Regions from separate parts of the Homo sapiens genome. Here regions 2, 3 and 4 are each linked to region 1. The links are contacts of gene promoters, found by promoter capture Hi-C in human tissues and cell types (Jung and others, 2019). All regions are on one chromosome and are shown on one strand. Each heading gives the region's core, a stretch centred on a gene start or on the middle of the fragment in contact. The rest is flanking DNA. Distances are from core to core; before and after follow the strand shown. Region 1 holds the start of VCAN (versican). Region 2 has its middle 270 kb from the start of MIR3977. Region 3 has its middle 270 kb from the start of RPS23. Region 4 holds the start of LOC124901020 (a long non-coding RNA gene).

The links. The method cuts DNA at HindIII sites, captures the fragments that hold promoters and counts their contacts. A contact is called where the count stands out against the background at its distance.
Region 2: a fragment that was not itself captured here is called in contact with the fragment with the promoter of VCAN in region 1 in 2 of the 25 tissues and cell types used here (dorsolateral prefrontal cortex and lymphoblastoid cells).
Region 3: a fragment that was not itself captured here is called in contact with the fragment with the promoter of VCAN in region 1 in 1 of the 25 tissues and cell types used here (dorsolateral prefrontal cortex).
Region 4: a fragment that was not itself captured here is called in contact with the fragment with the promoter of VCAN in region 1 in 1 of the 25 tissues and cell types used here (heart right ventricle).

What each region holds. Positions count from the first base shown.
Region 1 is chr5:83,470,467-83,473,166 of GRCh38, forward strand. VCAN (versican) reads left to right here and starts at 1,278. Exons shown (of 15, transcript NM_004385.5): 1 at 1,278-1,557. RefSeq lists an enhancer at 1,707-2,579. The HindIII fragment of the contact is 7,638 bases long and covers 1-2,700 here.
Region 2 is chr5:82,564,952-82,567,651 of GRCh38, forward strand. No RefSeq gene overlaps it. Among named protein-coding and RNA genes, the nearest start is that of MIR3977, 270 kb to the right of the region's middle. The HindIII fragment of the contact is 5,226 bases long and covers 1-2,700 here.
Region 3 is chr5:82,546,727-82,549,426 of GRCh38, forward strand. No RefSeq gene overlaps it. Among named protein-coding and RNA genes, the nearest start is that of RPS23, 270 kb to the left of the region's middle. The HindIII fragment of the contact is 3,180 bases long and covers 1-2,700 here.
Region 4 is chr5:82,814,334-82,817,033 of GRCh38, forward strand. It overlaps LOC124901020 (a long non-coding RNA gene), which reads right to left and starts at 2,661. Exons shown (of 2, transcript XR_007058846.1): 1 at 2,457-2,661. The HindIII fragment of the contact is 5,543 bases long and covers 1-2,700 here.

The DNA.
Region 1 (2,700 bases), core at 28-2,527:
AGAGGCTTCAGAGAGAAGAGTTGTGAGGATACTTTCATATTTGTGTAGAAGGAAAAGTTTGCCATCCATTCTAGTATCCCTAGTGTTATACTGATGTGCACCTTGGATTTATTTTGTTCCTATTGTATAAACTCATACTTGACTTCAAAGAAAAGGAAAATCCAAAGTCCCTCTTTTCTAAGGGGACAGAAATCCTTTGTGTCAACTGTTTGACCCTTTTCTCTGTAAGGTCCTATTGGAAATCTTTTGTAACACAATGCAGGGGACTCTTCCATGTGTTGATGCTGTTTACACAGTGGGGTGGGCCTGACTGAAGAAAAAAAATCGCATATACGCATGAAAGATTATGGTCTTATTTCCGGAAAGCATGAAAGGTGATTGATACTTCCAAGAAGTCCCTGTTACTCAGGAAAATTATCAAATATTCTACTCAGAGATACTTGGAAAGACTGAAGGAAAGGAAGAACGAAGAAAGCAGAATCTAGACTTATGTGGGGAGAGATTTGTGGCAGAGGAAAAGTATTCTCTTTGAATCCGACAAGGGATTTGCCTGGGGGAATTTCCTGTCCAGCCTTTTATTACCAGGGTCTTTTGAAGCCGGGCTCCCCATTGGGCAGTTCCCTGGGAGTGCAGTGGGGAATTCTTACACTTTCCCTCTAGGTCCCCGAAGGATCTCGTTTTCTCAGTGTCTCTTTCAGGTTGGCAGGAGCCTTGAGCCTGACACTTCCCTTTGATGGGACAGGCAAGCTCTGTGGGCGCGTAAACACGCTGTAACCAAGTTCTTTGCTGATTTTACAGTTTTGTGTGCTCCCGAGAAGAAGTGATCGTACTCAATTGTCTATTGCTGGCCTGCCCCCTAAGAGCCTGGGGGCTCCTTTCCCCTAACCCAGAACTAGCTGCACGGGGGGCGGGGAAATGGGGGTGGGGAAGGAGTGGGAGGGCAGTGGTTTCCGCGAGCAGAGCGATGTTACTGAGTGAGTCCCTGAATGGGGAGCGCTGCTGTCCCCAAGCCGATTGGTACTTCTTGTCAGGAAGAAACGCCAAGAGGTGGGAGTGCCTGGGGAGGGAGGCAGGCGGTCCCTACCGCAGGCGCGGGGAGCTGCCTTTCCGCCCCTCCGCCTGCTTTCCAAGCCTGGACTCTTAGGAGTGGCTGAAGCTGCGGAGCGCTTTTGGAGCCTGTGAATGAACCCTCCTCCTCTCCCTCCTCCTTCTTCTCGCTGAGTCTCCTCCTCGGCTCTGACGGTACAGTGATATAATGATGATGGGTGTCACAACCCGCATTTGAACTTGCAGGCGAGCTGCCCCGAGCCTTTCTGGGGAAGAACTCCAGGCGTGCGGACGCAACAGCCGAGAACATTAGGTGTTGTGGACAGGAGCTGGGACCAAGATCTTCGGCCAGCCCCGCATCCTCCCGCATCTTCCAGCACCGTCCCGCACCCTCCGCATCCTTCCCCGGGCCACCACGCTTCCTATGTGACCCGCCTGGGCAACGCCGAACCCAGTCGCGCAGCGCTGCAGTGAATTTTCCCCCCAAACTGCAATAAGCCGCCTTCCAAGGTAATCACGTTTCTTTTGTTCCCCCCTTAAAAAACAAAAACAAAAAACTTATAGAAAAAAACCCGCGAGCTTAGAAAAAAGAAGCAATTGGTAGAAGGCTTTAATTAAGGCAAAGAGCTGTAAGGCGAAGTTAAGAAAATGTAGGCACTTAAAAAATGCAGGTAACTTTCATAAGGGCTTTTGGGGAGAGGCATACAGAGGGACCTTGGTGTTGAAAAAGATTCAGACAAAAGAAACCCAGGGTGGGGTGGGGGGTAAAATGACTAACGGAATTGGGGGAAGGGAGGGAATAAATTGTAAAGAAATCATAGAAAAGTGGTGGGTTCTTGAGCTGGAGAGAAGAGAGGGACCTTTGGCACTTTGATTTTTTTGTTGTTGTTGTTCTTAACACGCTCGAGGCAAAAGTTTGAATGGGGACTACCAAGACTTGCCACAGACAAGTCCCCGAAGCCGCCTTGGTGCAGGCCACCTGGTTTCCCAGCCCCTGGTGTGTGGTCAGTGCCTGGTGTTCCTGGAAAGCCACTCCCGGGCAGCTCCTGACAGTGCGACCCGGCGCCCAAGCAGCCTGGGACCTTGCGCGGACCTGACCCCTTCAGACCGCAGGCAGTCTGGGAGGAGGTCCGGCCGGGGGAGGTGCAGGATCCCCGCCGTGTCTCTTTGACGACTTGGGGACTGTCACGGTTCTCTCCCGGCGCCCCTGGGTTCTTTTGTCCTGCACGCGGTGCGAAGGGGCCAGCAGGGAAGGAGCAGAGGATGGGGGGTGGGGTTGTTGGAGCCCCGCGGAGGTCTGGGAGGCCCCTGGGCGGGAAAAGCCTGTTCTGAATCGGCAGGGATGTGCAACAATTTTTCTCACCCTGAAGAGTGAAATAGGGTCTGTCGCTCCCATCTCAACAAGCAAACCGGCACCCAGAGCGCACTGCAGACAAAGGTGGCTCGGGGACCCGAATCAGGGGCCTCTGGGTCAGTCCTCTCGCCCAGACTACAGGAGTCCTCCGTTTCCTTACATATTCCCCACCCTCTCCTAGTTCTCCGCTCTAGTTGAGCAACTTTACTGGCAGGTCTAGCGGCAGCGGCGCGCGCGTGTGCCGGGAGCCCCGGGGGACGTCCTCGGCTGGAGCGCCCCACCGTCCTGCAGAGGCGTGG
Region 2 (2,700 bases), core at 164-2,663, 910 kb before region 1:
CTCCAAGTTGGGGAGGAAATATAAACCCTGAGATCACCCCTGAGCTGTGGTGGGCAGCCTGAGAGTGCCAAGCCATGATCTACAGCTGGCACTCAAGTGGGAGAGGAGCCCACATTTCAGAGCATTGAAAGGGAGCATGGCTACAACTCTAAGGAAATATAAGGGAGCTACGGGATTGAGCAAGAGCCTACCAACTGACCTCTATGACTAAGTGCCATTAACTAATTCACACTCCAAAGCTTTAACACCAAAAATACCTCACTAATATACTCCCCTGTAAAACCTATGACAAGTCAGCTACAAATAAAGACACAAAGCCTGCACAAAGCCTCAGCCCTGTGAAACCATCCAGAAAAGAACTATATTGACTGTACTCAATCTACACTGCAATTAAAGGAACACCCACATGCAGAGATAAGAAAGAACCAGTGCAAGAACTGGCAACTTAAATAACGAGAGTATCTTATGTCCTCAAAATGATCATATTAGTTCTCCAACAAGGTTTCTTAACCAGGCTAAATTGGCTGAAATGACAGAAATAAAATTTAGACTATGAATAGGAACGAAGATCATCAAGATTCAGGAGGATGGCAAAATCCAATCCAAAGAAATTAAGAATGACAAAATGATACAGGAGCTGATAGATGAAATGGCGAGTATGAAAAAAGAACTTAACTGATCTGACAGAGCTAAAACATACACTACAAGAATTTCACAATGCAATGGCAAGTATTAACAGCAGAATAGAAAAAGCCAAGGAAAGAATCTTGGAACCCAAAGGCTGACTCTCTGAAATAAGACAGTCGGGCAAAAATAAAGAAAAAAAGAATAGAAAGAAATGAGCAGAAGCTCCAAGAAATATGAGATTATGTAAAAAGGCCAAATCTATGTAACATTGGCATCCCTGAAAGGGATGGGAAGCAAGCAAATAACTTGAAAAATATGTTTCAGGATATCATTGATGAAAACTTCTGTAACCTTGCTAGAGAGGACAACAGTCAAATTCAGGAAATATGAAGAATCCCTGCAAGATTCTACACAAGAAGATTATCCTCAAGACATATAATCATCAGATTTTCCAAGGCTGAAATGAAAGAAAGAATGTTAAAGGCAGCTAGAAAGAAAGGGCAGATCACCAACAAAGGGAACTCCATCAAGCTAATGGCAGACTGCTCAGCAGAAACCCTACAAGCCAGAAGAGACTGGGGGCTTATATTCAACATTTCTAAAGAAAAAATCTTTAAGCAACATGCCTAAAGAAAAAATCTTTAACCAAGAATTTCATATCCCGCCAAACTAAGCTTCCTAAGCAAAGGAGAAATAAGATCCTTTTCAGATAAGCAAATGCTGAGACAGTTCATTACCACCAGACCAACTTTATAAGAGATCTTGAAATAAGCACTAAGTATGGAAAGGAAAGGCTGTTACCAGCCACTACTAAAACACACTTAAGACACTATAAAGGAACCATACAAACAAGCTGGCATAATAACCAGCTAACAACACAATGACAGGATCAAATCTACACACATCAATACTAACCTTGAATGTAAAGAAGCTAAATGCCCCATTTAAAAGGTGCGGATAAGCTGGATAAAAGAGGAAGACCAAATGGTGTGCTGTCCTCAAGGGATCCATCTCACATGCAATGATACACATAGGCTCAAAATAAAGGGATGGAGGAAAATCTATCAAGCAAATGGGAATCAGAAAAAAGCAGGGATTGCAACCCTAATTTCAGACAAAACAGACTTTAAACCAACAAAGATCAGAAAAGACAAAGAAGGGTATTACACAATGGTAAAGAGTTCAATTCAACAAGACCTAACTATCCTAAATATACATGCACCCAACACGGAAGCATCTGGATTCATAAAGCAAGTTCTTAGAGACCTAGAAAGAGCTTAGACTCTCACACAATAATAGTGGGAGATATCAATACTCAACTGACCGTATTACACAGATCATCAAGGCAGAAAATTAACAGATATTCAGAACCTGAACTCAACATTAGAGCAAATGGATCTGATAGACCTCTACAGAATGCTTCACTCAGCAACCACAGAATATACATGTTTCTAATTGCCACATGGCACATAACTCAAATAAACCACACAATTAGACATAAAATGCTTCTCAGCAAATGCAGATGAACCTAAATTATACCAAACACACTCTTGGAACACAGCACAATAAAAATAGAAGTCAAGACTAAAAAAATTCCTCAAAACCATGCAATTACATGGAAATTAAACAATATGCTCCTGAATGTCTTTGGGGCAAATAATATAATTAAGGCAGACATCAAGAAATTCTTTGAAACTAACGAGAACAAAGATACAGCATACCAGAATATCTGGGGCACAGGTAAAGTAGTGTTAAGAGGGAAATTTATAGCTCTAAATACCCACATTGAAAAGTTAGAAAGATCTCAAATTAAAAACCTAACATCACACCTGAAAGATGAGAAGTAAAAGCAAATCAACCCCAAAGCTCACAGAAGATAAGACATAACCAAAATCAGAGCTGAACTGAAGGATATCGAGACACACACAAAAATTTAAAAGATCAACAAATCTAGGAGCTGGTGTTTTGAAAAAAACTAATAAGTTAGACCACTACCTAGACTAATACAGAAGAAAAGAGAGAAGTTTCAAATAAACACAATTATAAATGACAAAGGGGATGTTACCACTGACC
Region 3 (2,700 bases), core at 27-2,526, 920 kb before region 1:
TTATATCTATTTTCCTCTGATCTACACATCAAACATGCATGGCAATAAAGATCATATTTTCCTGGAAAAACTTGATAAATTGATAACCGTATGCTTCCAAGAGGGCTCCAAAAATCATCTGCTAAAATTTATTACTAGGGTTGATACTGCTTATTTTGCTGGGTTCCTGTGAAAACTATGTGGGATAAAGTTTACAAAAACCTGTTAAATCTGGCATTGGAGATCAAGGAGATGCAGAAGAAGTAGTAAAGGAGACTGAACATGAACTTCCAGAGAGGCAGAGAAAACCAGGCTACAAAAGTGTTCAAGGGCAAGTGATAAACTTTGCTGGTCTAGTTTATAGCTCAACTAATGAACTAATAGTAAGGAGGAGGTTATTGATGACTTTCATAAAGGAAGCTTCAATAGATTGGTTAGGCAAAACTTTACTGAAATAAATTTAAGATAAAATGAGAGTAAATACATATAGGGGACAATTGGTATAGACAATACTTTCATAAACTTTTGCTATAAAGGAAAGAAGAGACATGGAGTGTAAGGTCATAAAGAGTTTTCTGTATTTTTTATGGTTCCCCAAATAATAGCCTGTTGGTATGAGAATGATTCAGTAGAAAAGAAAAAAAAATATTGATATGATTTATAGAAAAAATGATGCCTGGAGGAATGTTCTTGGTGGATGAGAGGAATGGGGTCTAGTGGACAGGTAGCAATGCTGACCATAGCTAGAACAGAAAAGAAGCCTCAACATTTTCACCCGTGACCTGGAGGAAGACATTAATAAATACTGCAAATTCGGTAAAAATAGCTGATATACTAGATAGTAACATTGAAATTTAAAATATCTGTCATGTATAAATATAAAATAGGGCCAGATAATCTGAAATATATGGGCTTATAAAAAGGTAAATGAAAATACAGATAATCAAAAGCATGTAACTTGGGAGGGAAATAATTAAGGTTAAATTGTTATAAGATTTGTGTATAGTTTTTCAAGGTGGATAAAAATTTTTATTAACTTCACAATGTTAAATTAATTATGAAAGCTAAAACTTTTAAGTGCAATCACTAAAACAAAAAAATAAAGTATGTATAATAGTCTATTACAGGAAAAATAATGGAATTCCAAATATAAAATAGCTTTATCTACTAGAATAGTAGATAAGGAAGAGTAACCAGATGTTCAAGGGTCTGAAAACAATGGTTAAAGGCATAAAATATATAGTTTTGGTAAGAAAAGTCATTTTCTTTGCAGGACTTAATGCTCAAATTATTTCTTCAATTTGATAGTCTTTAAATATTTTAAGATCTATCATAAGTAGGGGAAGGGATTAAATGTACTCCTTATTTAATGTTAGAAAGTTGAACAGGCTATGGATATGAGTTATGGGGAGGTAGTTTGGGGGTTTATTGTAAGAAAAATATTTATAAAAATGGAATGGCTACAGGTGAGATACTGAGCTCTCCTTCAGAGGTCATAGGATCATCTATCTGTCAGGAAATTTTGATATGGGTTACTGTAGCAAAAGTTGGACTAAATGAACTGAATAAACCCTGTGCCAACTCAAAGATTTTAAAATAATAGTAATGATTTAAAAAAATGTTCTAATCACCTTATAGACATTACTTTATTCAACCTTTGCATCAACATCATCAGATAAGTATTATTCCTGTTTTTGAAGATGTTAAATTTAGAGGTTTAAGTGCCTTGTTGAGGATGTGCAGCTTGTGTGGGGATAGAAATCCAGGAATGCCTCATTCTAAAGTGGGAGACTTTTCATTATGCCTCACGGAATCCCAGAATGAGAGTCATCGACTCATTTCTAATCTTGCCAAATTCCCGCAAAGAAGTCCTTTCTGTCTCATAATAGTGGTGTAAAATATCATAAGCCAAAATCAGCAAAGGTAGATATATATATATATACATACACACATACACACATATATATGATATATACATGTATTATATGTACATATATTTCATGCATACACACACACAATTTCAGTAAAGACTTTGCTCCTTCTTCTTTTCCAAAAACCTAGAACCTAAAAGAAGCCTTCTTCATGCATAAAAGTAAATTTCTCCAAATGAATTTTGGCAGTAATTTTTTAAGAACTAATTGTTTCCAGTATACAAAGTGAATCTTTATTAATTTTTATGTAATTTCTCTTCTTTTGTATTTGGTCCATAGATAATTGTTCTTTTTTTCTTTTTTTGCATTTGATTCTTTTATAAAGTCTGATGGTGTTGGATATTCTTATACAAATTCTGATAATAAACCTTAATATTGATTTGTCTAATAGGAGAGGCACAGCTTGAACATACTACTACTGAATGAAAATAAGCGTAACTCGGAAGATTTCTTTTAGTAAATCAGTTGGTGTATAGTGACATTTCAGAGGGAAGTGGATAGAAGATGCATGGATAAAAATTATTTTATGCAAAATAAAAATTGAACATATCTCTACTCTGAATTTGCACTAACTTAAAACTCTAAAGACTACTAAATGCTAAAAGGATTCATTGTGGTCCTGAACTTGGTGGACAGAAATGTGACATTCTGATATTCTGACTTGTGATGCACTACTTCCAGTGTATTTTCTACAAACTTAGCTTGATGGAACTTTCCTGGGAGCAAATTTTCTAGTGAGATTTCCAAGCCAAATTTGATGGCATTTGGTTGAATTGGATGAGCTTCAAAG
Region 4 (2,700 bases), core at 75-2,574, 660 kb before region 1:
AGGCAAAGTCCCAAAAGTCCATCTTTGGGCTATTGATGAGTGTTACCAAGCTCCAGCTCCATTTTCTCAGAAAACTCAGGTCAGGAAGGTGTTTCTTCCTTTAATCTCTTCCTTAACTCCCAGGCTGTGGTCAGCATCTCATGCTCTCATTTTGCATGCTTTTGTTTTCTTTCCCCAATAATAATGCAATCTATTGAGTAGGAATGATGGCATTCTTCTCCCACAGCAACTAAAATGATGTTTGGATAGATCATTGGGTCTTGAAAAGTACATTTTCATTGTACTGGGCTGGATGGTTTCTTCTGAGCACTGTTTAATGGGTTTCACTGACTACTTCCCCTAGCCAGACACATAGAATGCAAATGGTTCTGTGGCCTGGTTGAATAAATGGATTTGTACTTCATTGTACTACTAGCGGCTCTTCACCTAAACAAAATTTCCATTTGGAAATGGGAATATCCCTCTCACTTATGTAAACACTACTTTCCCTTTCTTTTGATCAAGGACCTTCCTTCAACTTCAAAGTTTTTCATCTCCTCTGTACACATGATGCTTCCGGATTCTGAAGTCTTGTAAGTCAAAAATTCAATGCCTAAAAATTTTTCAATGTACCATCTTTCATAGACACAGAGTAACTATGCATCAGAACAAAAGCACAACTACTTATTTATATAATGGTACTTTGTATATAAGAATGAAAGGGAAGGCCAGGTGCAGTGGCTCAAAGCTGTAATCCCAGCACTTTAGGAGGCTGAGGTGGAAGGATTGCTTGAGGTCAGGAGTTCAAGACCAGCCTGGGAAATGTAGCAAGTCCCTGTCTCTAAAAAAAAAAAAAAGAAAAAGAAAAAAAAATAGAATAAAAGGGGAAAGATTTTTTGGAACTCAAGCTATTCATCCATTGAGAAGTCTCTGTACAAATTATCTGGTCTCCTTATTGTCAGGAAGCTCACAGAACCTTTCTTTATGTATTTGAGTATTACATATGCATTTATTTGAAGAAAATTCACAGGCTTTACAATGAGTTATAACACCACTTCCCAGTTCCTTCTCACTGTGGAACTGTTAGCAACCCATTTGGTCATTTTAGGTGCACTATTAGGTGCATTAGTATACCTTTGAGATAATCTCAGATCTACTGCTTATTAGTTGCATGACGTGGCCACATTATTTAAGGTCTTTGCTTCAGTTTCCAAATCTGTGAAACAGAAATAGCAATAGCAATCACCTATGGGTTATCAGGAGGATTAAATGAGTTACTACATGTAAGGCACAGAGAGCCTGGCACTTGGTATGAACTCATCAAATAGTAACTTTTTTTTTCTTCCAGATCTGGGGACATTCTCATGTGTCCCTCATGAATTTTGTTCCATTCCAACTGAGAGTAGTGGGAGGATGCCACTTCTTAATTCAGGGTCCCCATTGCTAAGTCTTCGGCCTTTTGTTATGTACTCGTTCAAAATACAGGCTTCAAGTGATGACTCTGTATTTCTATAATCTCCACTTAGACAGAGATTCCTAAGGACAGGAACTCGATCCTAAGGTTGTTTCTATGGCCCACCATGTTTAAGGCAGTGTCTCACATGGAGTAAGAGCTCCATATTTATTTTTGTTGATATTTTTTACTGTTCCTTCCTCTCTGGTTACCCAACACTGATTATGGCAGCATTCCACTCTTTCTCCTCTTCCACACCACGTGTAATTTGATCCAATAGAGGTTACAGAGCCTGTAAGGCATACTACAAGGGACTTACCAGTAACCAAATATGTGATCCTTACCAGAACTCTTATTGTTTAGATAGGAGAAAGAGCAGATAATTTTTTGGACAGATGTGTGTCCTGGGTTGTGGGCTGCTTGTGGGTTTCTCATGTGCTGGCAAGCTGATAAAATTGAAAGGCAATGAAAAAATTTGGACAAGCATTCCAGTGAAGCTAACACAAGATTTCTTGATTTTGACCAACTTTGGCTACATTATTAGGAAAAGATAGCCCATGAAGGTGTTTTCTATGGGAAACACTCTACTATAAGAAGATAACCAATGAAAATTTTTAATTCACTGAGCCAGACTTCTTTCCACATAGTCTCATGTGATTCAATTACAAAACACTTTTTTCGGCAGGGTGCGGTGGCTCACGCCTGTAATCCCAACACTTTGGGAGGCCGAGGTGGGTGGATCTCAAGGTCAGGAGTTCAAGACCAGCCTGGCTAACATGGTGAAACCCCGTCTCTACTAAGAATACAAAAATTAGCTGGGCATGGTGGCACGTGCCTGTAATCCCAGCTACTAGGGAGGCTGAGTCAGGAGAATTGCTTGAACCGGGACCCGGGCGGCGGAGGTAGCAGTGATTGAGATCTCGCCATTGCACTCCAGCCTAGGTTACAGAAAGAGACTCTGTCTCAAAAACAAAACAAAACGAAACAAAAACAAAAACAAAAACAAAAAACACTTTTCTCTTACCTGCTTACTGGCATCTTTGAATGCAGATTCAATAGTGAACTGGACTTACTCTCTTCAGAAGGTACTCCTACTGATGCTAGAAAATGCAGCCACAAAGGAAAAACATTGTAGAGGAATTTCACTCCAGCAGAAAGAAGCAACTCCCTCATTACCAGATTGTTGTTTTCAGTAATTCTGTGGAAAGTCCCTTCTCTTGTTCAGTCCCTTGCTTCTCCATTTGGCTTAATCCCCCCAGCTGTAGTTT